Regions from separate parts of the Homo sapiens genome. Here region 2 is linked to region 1. Evidence: promoter capture Hi-C in 16 types of primary human blood cells and fetal thymus (Javierre and others, 2016). All regions are on one chromosome and are shown on one strand. Each heading gives the region's core, a stretch centred on a gene start or on the middle of the fragment in contact. The rest is flanking DNA. Distances are from core to core; before and after follow the strand shown.

Evidence for each region. Contacts are between HindIII fragments. The CHiCAGO score rates a contact against its expected background, and 5 or more counts as called.
Region 2: a contact is called between a fragment that was not itself captured here and the fragment with the promoter of OXNAD1 in region 1, in 1 of 17 cell types (fetal thymus). The highest score is 6.7, in fetal thymus.

What each region holds. Positions count from the first base shown.
Region 1 is chr3:16,263,234-16,267,970 of GRCh38, reverse strand. OXNAD1 (oxidoreductase NAD binding domain containing 1) reads right to left here and starts at 2,759. Exons shown (of 9, transcript NM_138381.5): 1 at 2,466-2,759. It overlaps DPH3 (diphthamide biosynthesis 3), which reads left to right and starts at 3,028. Exons shown (of 3, transcript NM_206831.3): 1 at 3,028-3,202; 2 at 3,742-3,816. The coding sequence starts at 3,095. RefSeq lists an enhancer at 2,887-3,196. The HindIII fragment of the contact is 2,642 bases long and covers 220-2,861 here.
Region 2 is chr3:17,410,843-17,416,040 of GRCh38, reverse strand. The region is part of intron 4 of TBC1D5 (TBC1 domain family member 5); the gene reads left to right. Among named protein-coding and RNA genes, the nearest start is that of TBC1D5, 330 kb to the left of the region's middle. The HindIII fragment of the contact is 1,030 bases long and covers 1,224-2,253 here.

The DNA.
Region 1 (4,737 bases), core at 1,510-4,009:
AAGTATAATAAGTGCTAAATAAAACTGACACCCATTAAATATGTAGTAAAACAAACTTCTGAAAGCAACAGATTAAATTTAACATTTAAGATTAATTATATGGTTTCAGTTCAACAGGTATACTCAGTTCATTCAACAACTACAGGGGTGCCAGGCACTATTTTAGGCCTTGGAGATATAATAAAGAACCAGACGCAAGGCCCTTGCCATCATGAAGCTTTTATTACAGTTCCAGAGACAGATAGTAGTAAACAAATAACAAGATAATTATAGATTATGATGAGTATGATAAAGGGAGTAAGAGTGATGGGGTAGGTGGGGGAAATATCAAGAAAGACATCTCTCCAGTGATGACACCTTGGCTGAGATCTGAATGATGAGGAAAAGGCGGCCAAGCAAATGTTAAAGGCAGACAACTCTGGCAGAAGGACTAGCAAGAGCAAAGGTCCAACACAGAAATAAGCCCGGCATGTTAAAGGAACCAAGGCCAGTGTGACTGGAGAGCAGTAAGCTGGTAAGAGTGAAATGAGATGAAGTCCAGCAGTCTATAGTAAGGGTAAGAATTTTATCCTAAGGGTAATGGGAAGCAACTGAAAAGTCTGAATCAATCAGGAGAAGGACAAGACCTAATTTATATTTTTAAAGGACTGCTCAAGTTGCTGTGGGAAGGATAACAGAGGGAGAGGGGCAGGAGTGGAAGCAGGAAACCCAGTTAAAAGACTCTGGTCTAAGATTATAATAAGGTAACAGCTACAGAGATGGCAGAAGTAGATGAACATGACATATATTTTGGAATTAGAGCCCCAAAACTTGCTGATACATTAGGCAGGGTGTGAGAGGACACTGACAGAGAAAAGCCAAGAATGCCTCAATAAGCATAAATGCACTGAAATTAAGTAAGTTCAAAGAACAATCATGACATCTGTCAATTTAGAATCTTAGGTGTCACTGAGGAAGAAAAAGGGCTCCTCTTGCTCCAACAGGCAAAGACACCTTAGTGGTAAACAAGTAGTATACACAGAGTATTTGACCGGAAATCAGCGGAACTGGGCTCAGGTGTGACTCCTTCCTGCTTTCTAATCTTCAGCAAGTCTCCTCTTGCCATTTTAACATTACCCACGCCACCTCACTGGATTACTGAGAGGAATAAATAAAATGTCTACCAAAGTACCTGGCAAGCAACAGTGTTACTAAAATCAATCCTAATACATTGACCCCTTCTCTTCCTTGTCAAACAACCTAGAGAGGTGGAGGTTTGGTATTGCCAATAAACAACTCCTTCTGGCCTGATATACAACAGCACTCATCAAATATAGTTTGCATTATACAATTATGACCTACTTCTTTTTTTTTTTTTTTTTTTTTTTTGAGACAGCGTCTAGCTCTGTCGCCCAGGCTGGAGTGCAGTGGCGTGATCTCAGCTCACTGCAATCTCTGCCTTCCAGGTTCAAGAGATTCTCCTGCCTCAGCCTCCTGAGTGGCTGGGATTACAGGCACACCACCACACCTGGCTAATTTGTGTATTTTTTAGTAAAGACGGGGCTTCATCATGTTGGTCAGGCTGGTCTCGTATTCCTGACCTCGTGATCCGCCCTTTTAGGAATAAATGTAAAGTTTAGTAGTCATTGTAATGTTTTCTTCAAAAGTGCACAGGGATATATTATGTATATGTGTTACGTAAATGTAAACTAAATGTTATATATCATTGCTGAACCAAGTAAAGCTCATAATTTCCGTGCAAAAGTGGAACATTACATCTAAAAAGGATCTTATATCATCTCTACTCCAATCCTTTCTTAGAAGAGGAAATAAGGCCCAAAGAATGTAAATATCCAGTTGCCAGAGGTAATCAACAACTCAAGATTCCGATCCCAGATCTTCTCTCGAAAGTGCTTTTTCACTACAATGCATTTCTTCTCTACTAAGATATTAAAATGCCTAGTAATTAAGTAAGACCCAATGTAATCGGTTTTACCAAAACAGGCACTAGCACTGCTTTCAAGACAAAAATGCCTTTTATCTGCATTTCGCTTCAAGGCATACATAGGCCTCACACTGATAAACCTGCCTACTGACACCATTTCTTTCACAACGAAAAAACTGGTACTCACATAAGTAATTTGTTCCTGGGCTTTGGAGACAGACAAGCTCTTCATTATTTCCCAGGTGTATGATTTTAGTCAAGATGCCCAACTCTCTGTACCTCAGTTTAAAGATTAATAAAATGGAATAACATGTAAACTCCTAGAGTTGACAATTCCACTTAGTGCAATAGCTGGCACATAACTTCCCAATAATAAAAGGTGATGTTATTACTATTACTAAAAATCATCGTCGTTAATAATGTTATAAGCCTGGCAAACAGAAGACTAGAACTCAATCCCTGCCTTCCAGGGCTTGGTCCTTTCAGCAACACAATTTAGGGTATTTTAAGGCGTCTGGGGTGAGGAAGAAGCGGAATGTACCTGCAGCCAGGAATTAACAAGCTGACCGTCGCCCTGGGCTCAAGGTCACTCGGTGAAGCGAAATTCTACGGGAACTGTTCGTCCGTCACCAGGAAGGGAGGTCGAGGAGGCTAAGCTGCTCTCGCCTCCCCACCCCGCCTTTCCCGAGGGCCGGGAGGCTGCTACCTAGCACCTGCTGCAGCCTTCAGCGGGCTATTTAAGGCGTTAAAGCAGACGATAAGAAGCAGGGAAACTTTCCCCGCTGGCACCTAGCTTGCAGACCCGGCCACGTTTAGTTGCAGGCGCCTGGAATACTCCGCGGTCCCAGACGTGACGTAGCAGCGCGGGCGAGCCCCACATTCTATTGGTCGCTGCCGCCCAATAGGAGGAGCGGTGCGCGACCCCGCTGAGCAAGCTTTCAGTCTTCCCAGTGTCTCCGCCCCTAGTTCAGCCATCTCCATGGTGACCGCTACCGGTTATCCATTTGGCCGCGCAGGGCGGAGTTGCGTCATTGCCTATGCGCCGGAAGGGCTAGTCCTTGCCCGGCGCGACCTGATGATGCCGAGCCCAGGCCGGTTCCGGCGAAGTTAAACCCTCGGAGCTGGCCTCGGACTGCTGGGGCGTTACCCCTTCGGCCACCCCCGCTGACCATGGCAGTGTTTCATGACGAGGTGGAAATCGAGGACTTCCAATATGACGAGGACTCGGAGACGTATTTCTATCCCTGCCCATGTGGAGATAACTTCTCCATCACCAAGGTAACTTCAGGGTCCCGCCCGGCGGTTCACCCAAGCAAGCGCAGTTTGGTTCCGCCCGTTCCTTCCATCATTGGGTAGCCTTTGCTGCGCTGTGTCACCCACGCCCTCTTTCCCGTTGCTGAATCTTCCTCCTCCCGCGTCCCCCCACCCCAACTAATGCCCTGAGCTCTCTCGGTAGGCACGCAGTTCTGGCCTTAGATTAGGTCAGGGAGAGGGTGGCGGAGAGCCTCTGTCTCTCTGCCCGATCCCTGCCTTAGGGTCCCAACCTGGGATATTTCTGTCGAGGAGGGGACTCGTTTTTTGTTTCCCAGGGCTTTTGGGGCGACCGAAGCTCGCCTGACCTTCCTAGGTGTTTCCCCTAAGTGACGCTTCTAGGGGAAAATGATGTCGGCATTTCTCGCTGAAGGCCCTGGGGTTCTCACCCACCTTGGGGGGAAGGCAAGCCACCAAGAGACTTGCATCTAGGGGTGGGATAGGTTTGGGGGAGGAGATGGCGAAGAGAAGCTATCCTGACCACATGGTATTTGATTTCGTTGTAGGAAGATTTGGAGAATGGGGAAGACGTGGCAACGTGTCCTAGCTGCTCTCTCATTATAAAAGTGATTTATGACAAAGTAAGGGATATAATTTTAAAACGGGGGAAGGGTATTGTAAGTCAGTGGCAAGGACTTAGATCAGCTTGTCAGTGATGAGTGCAGGAGAATGTTTCATTGTGCTAGGTAAAGTGCGGTATTTTTTTAGGCAGGTTTTAAACACCATTGATAAACAGCCGAATAGTAAATTAAAACGTTTAAAGTTCAGATTACGTAATTTATTTTAGCTTTAGAGATAAATCTAGCTTTAGTGAAAATTATTATTTATTAAATAGAAAGTATATAGATTATTTTAGTGGACAATTTTTTATATTTCTCTTCTATTTAATATGTAATTAAAATTGTTTAGAGCTGCTAGACTTACTTTGAAGGGAACAATTGTATGGTATTTCGTGCTGGCTTATACACAGAATTCTGCATTATCTTGTTTGAGATATAATTCCTAGGTGCAGCTTTACAATTTCATTTTAGTCTTTAGTTGCCCTATTATCTTTCACCCAAGGATGTTGACAATAGAAAAAAAAAATGTTATTACTGCCCACTCCTACCCAAAGTTTTGTTCAGTACTTGGAATGGAATCTTAGGTAAGGACCTTAACACTCTCAAGGATGAAGTCCAAAATGAATATAGGGAAAGTGGGGATGAGGCACAGAGCCTCATGAGAGAAGCGGGCTATAATTTAGACTATAATTTAGAAATATAATGATTCATTCTTGTATTAAAATGTGCTCTGCAACAGAAAGCAAACGGTAAGGAAGATCAGGAGTGCTGGTCTGGGAGGAAGTTGCAGTTTTCCATAGGGTGATCATGGCAGGCCTTACTGAGAAAGGCCTTAATAGGTAAAGATTTGAAGGAGGTGAGGGAGTGAGCCATGTACATATGAGGGTATGAGGTAAGAGAGTCGAGCAAAGGATCGTTCAGTGAAGGGGACCTAAGACAGGA
Region 2 (5,198 bases), core at 489-2,988, 1.1 Mb before region 1:
TTCGCTAAATAAATGTCTATTTATAAATAACTGGAAAGTAATTTATTCTCTATTCTACCAGCCTTTCCTTTACAGTATTGGCTTATATTTGCAGACTGTGAGGCAAATTCTTTATCATGTTATAGAATGTTAGATATCAAGCCCTTGCCAGTTATTGCAAATATCAAAGTAAATGAGGTGAGGTGAGGGTGGGAAGAAGGTAGGAAAGGTCTGCAGGGAGAGGATTTTTTCCTTATTAATTATAGAGGAAGCATGAGTAAACCATGGAATATAAAATATACTTACTCCAGACAACTTCACAGAGATTGCTGGTATAGGATCCTTTTCTCACTTCATTTCTAAATGCCAGTCCTTTATTATTAATCTAATTATGTTTATCATATATTTAAATTATTAATACAATTAAAAGTGAAAAGCTTGTTATAAAATCAAAAAGTTTGTGATACTGCTTTTCTTGGTTTCCTTTTTTAAAGTATGATTATTGAGTTTACCTACTTTAATATGACCCTGGATTTGGAAGCTCTTACACACTGTATTTTTAAGAAAATAATGCCTGTGTTTTTTTGTTTGTTTGTTTTTGTTTTGTTTTTTCCTTTAAAGAAGAGAGTATTCCAGCCCTTTGGGAGGCTGAGGCAGGCAGATCATGAGGTCAGGAGATCGAGACCATCCTGGCTAACACAGTGAAACCCCGTCTCTACTAAAAAAGTACAAAAAATTTCGCCGGGCGTGGTGGTGGGTGCCTGTAGTCCCAGCTACCTGGGGAGGCTGAGGCAGGAGAATGGTTTGAACCCCAGAGGCGGAGCTTGCAGTGAGCAGAGATAGCGCCACTGCACTCCAGCCAGGGCGATAGAGTGAGACTCTGTCTCAAAAAATATATAAATAAATAATAAAAAGGAGAGTATTATATTTGACAGTCCCTAACTAACTGTTTTAACTCAGTTCTTTGTGTTCCTGTGAAAACTAAGGTGAAGGCTCAAGGTTTCTCAATTTAAAGTTCAGTTCAAACCTGAATCAAAACATGACCGTAATTTTAACAAACCTCTAGGCAATGAACTATTCTTTACCTGTATTTCAGTGGAGCCTTATCATATGATAACATGTTTCACCTAGACATATGAAAAAATACATTTTAAGCTTGTGTGTAATTGTGCATTCTGTTTTTTTATATATATTTATGTATAAGAGATATGCCCTGATGTTTCATTATGGAGGAGAAAAAAGCTTTAAATAAAAGTAAGTTTTAGAAAATTCGTGGTACAGGAAGCAAAAAAGCCAGTACAGTTTGTAATTGCCTTTTAGAGACTCGTGAGTTCCCTCATTACCTGTGATTTAAGCTAAAAATGAGGTAATTATAGATAACATCAGTGTTTATCTGGTTGATCTTGGCACCTGCAGTCCTAATGTTGTAGCTTACCCATATCTGGTGCCACACTTTACAGTCTTATGCTGACATACCTAATTTACACTTTTCATATTTCCATTGATTTTAAGTTAGATGTTACTTGTTCTATTTGAATAGTATTTTCAAAATCATACCTTTAAAATGGCCTAAAAGTATATACTCTTAAATGTAATACTGGAATTATGGTACAGTGCTTGGCATTGATTGAAATCTTTCACTAATGTATTTTGATATAGATTAGAAACAGATTCAAAAATTTACTGGCTCCTTTTTGATAAAATAAATGGATCATACTAAATATGGCAATTTTTAAAAATATTGGCATGTACTTTAGGATTATGAAATTGTATAAATCTTTTTGAATCAAGTTCAGCTTTCTTACCTTTTACTACCTCAGCTTCAGATATTCTACCCATCTAACCCTGATCTAATCCTACTTAAATCCTGCTTCATCCTGCTGTAGCCACTTTGTTCTATTATCTTACTACTTAGAATTGCAATGAAATGATCTGGTTGACTGGCTGACCTTGTAAACTCCATGATCATCTCTGAGAGCTGTCTGCTGCACTTCCCTATCACTATACCTCCCAGAGAGCTAAAAGCAACTTTCTACCTTATCTCTTTTTTCTTCCACTGTCTGTGACTTTTGGCTTTCCCCAAGGTGAGAATCCCTTCTCTTAACCACTCAGCAATTTCATTGTCAGTAGAAGCCTAAGTAGCTCCTCTTAACCAATGATTAGAGATCTTCAGTCTTAAACTGTATGTAGGCCCTGAACTCTTTGCTATTATTGTAGTCATTTGGATTTCTTAAGTTAGCCCACAAACACATTGTTTCCTTTCCATGTTAAGCTTAAAAATGGGATAGAAACCATCATATAAACCTATACAGTGTAAAATTAGTGTTTTCCATAGTGTATCACCATTTGGGACAATGATTCAGAAGCCTTCTAGTCATAAATTAGCACATAATTTAGTAATTTATTAGTCATCATGTAGGTTATAAAGGTATTTCAACTATTAAATTTAGAAGATATTAACAAATTTAGAAGGTACTAGTTTCACACCAATGTTATGAGCATATCTTGGGAAACTACTATTTAATTATATGTTAAAATATATAATTACAAATAGATAATCTCATTATAATCATCAGCTGTATTTATCCACTACATATTCTGATTGCTTTCCATGTCAAAATAGCCATTGCAGGAAGCTTAACTACCCAAATAGGTCTTAGAGGGAAGGTATCAATTCCTGCTGCAGAAGTTGACTTTATTTTTTGAGAAATAATTGCATCAATCATGGCCTACATATTTAATAAGTTACAGTGTTGTTTCCTGAGGAGCACACCAGTAAGCTCAGAGTCCTTCTCAGCATGGTGCTTCCAAGGCAGCCAGTACTGATCTATTAACATTGGCCTGAGAAATGAAACCTACTCATCTTCACCTTTCCCTGCTTAGATGCTGATTGTTTTCAGGGACCAAGTATCTGCAAGATAGAGTAATTGCCACTAGGTGGCACTAATGCTTTGTTAAGGAAATCTTCAAGGTCCAGGTGGCTAATCCATTCCATTTAAGGTTTTGCACACCTAAACACCCAGGTTCTTAACTACTCACAGGGACTGTTGTTAACTTATCTTCTCAGTCCAACTAGTAAAAAGTTATCTGCATGTCCATGGGCTTGATATTCAAAAACTAAAAATCTGAGGAAGAAAACAAGGGTATATTTCTATATTGCCTTGTTGCCAGAGGTCATTTTTGCTCTTGGTGTCTGGAGAATCATGTTTCCCTTTAGTGGTTACTTCCATGTTATTCCAGAAAGATGTCTTTCCTATTTCTCATTTCTTTATTCTCTTGACAAGTTATTCAATTTTTCTGAACCTTACTTTCCTCATTCATAAAGAGGGGTTAAAAATATATACCCTAAGTGATTTACCTAAAATATTATATCATAAGTGGGTCTTTTAAAAGCATTTCGATGGCATTATTGTCAGATTTTTGCTTTTCAGGCACATTGTAAGTATATTTTTTTATGTAAGAATAAGTTTAGCAACTACTTTTTTTTAAATTAAACTGAAATATTTCACCACTGACACCTCAATATTTTCTATTGTTAATCATGTCTTCCTCCAACTTCAGGAGCAGGCCTACCATTCATATTTGTGATTGTAAAAAAACCTTCATTTTGATCCTTCTCCCCTAGAAGGGCTAAACCTTTCAGCAGTTTACCCTCTGGAATCTGTTTAATGTTTGATTCTCAGTTCTTTGCAGTAGTATTTCAGTGGCTATGGTGCTACTGTTATTTTATATCCTAAGTTTTAATTTTGAAGTATCAAACCATTTCTTTCCCCTCTGTACTACCAGAGGGCTTTGCAGTAATCATTTCTACTCAATTCTTTGCAGTAGTATTTCAGTGGCTATGGTGCTACTGTTATTTTATATCCTAAGTTTTAATTTTGAAGTATCAAACCATTTCTTTCCCCTCTGTACTACCAGAGTGCTTTGCAGTAATCATTTTATTATTGGTTTACACATCCATCTGTCCACTCTTTAACTTTGTATGTTTTAAAAAATATGCCTGTGAGTGCTAAGCACATAGTAGGCGCTTAATAAATGTTTATATTTACTCTGTGTTACAGTTTATTGATGAAACACTATTCAATAGAAATGAAAGACAATTAATATATTATTATGTGGCCTTTATGCTCCTCTGTTGTTAGAGCCGTTCATCAGTTTGAGATGTTATGCCTTAATTAGAACTGTAAGTACCCATGAATAAATTTAAATGATTGTAAATTTCAGAGATAATGTTTCCAATTCACATGCCTCAGTCTTCTTTTCCCTATACCAACACCGTAATCAAGGTACAGGGTCTTATTTAAGCTAACAAATAATTATCCTTCATTACATAAGTAGTATGTAACTTGACCTTAAAAGCCTGCTTAACTTGACAAGATGGCAATGAATCTAGCCACCAGCTGTGCCTGTACTTTTACAATTTCTTAGTACTTGTGAATAGGAGCTGATTTTGGAAAAGACTGGAGGAGTCATTGCTTCATACTTCCCTCTCTTATCTGGAATACTTTGTGTTTTCAGTCCACAGAACTGCATGGTGTCTCACAAATTGTGATTCCTTTTGGGTTCAAAACATTGCACATTTGAGATCTGTGCTTGTTGTTCACAGACTACAAGCTATTTAAATATATGTATGGTTTTTGAGATGTGTATACATACCCCACAGATATTGCGGATTCAGTTCCAAACAACTGCAGTAAAGCAACTATTGGAATAAAGTGAGTCACGTGATATTTTTTGTTTTCTAGTACATTTAAAAGTTATGATTACACTATACTGTCATCTATTAAGTATGCAATAGCATATATCTAAAAAATATATAAACCTTAATTAAAAATACCTTATTGCAAAAAAAAAAAATGCCAAGGATCATCTGAGCCTTCAGCAGTTCTTAATCTTTTTGCTGGTAGAGGGTCTTGCCTTGTTGTTGTGGCTTCCCACTAGTTAGGGTGGTGGTTGCTGAAGGTTGGGGGTAACTGTGGCAATTCCTTTAAAAAACACAACAGTGAAGTATGCCACATAGATTGACTCTTCTTTTCAATAAAGATTTCTCTGTAGCATGAGATTCTGTTTGGCAGCATCTTACCCAGAGTAGAACTTGTTTCAAAATTGGACTCAGTCTTCTCAAACCCTGCAGCTGCTTTCTCACTTAGTTTATTAAATATTCTAAATTCTTTGATATCATTTTAACAATATTCACAGCACCTTCACCAGCAGTAGAT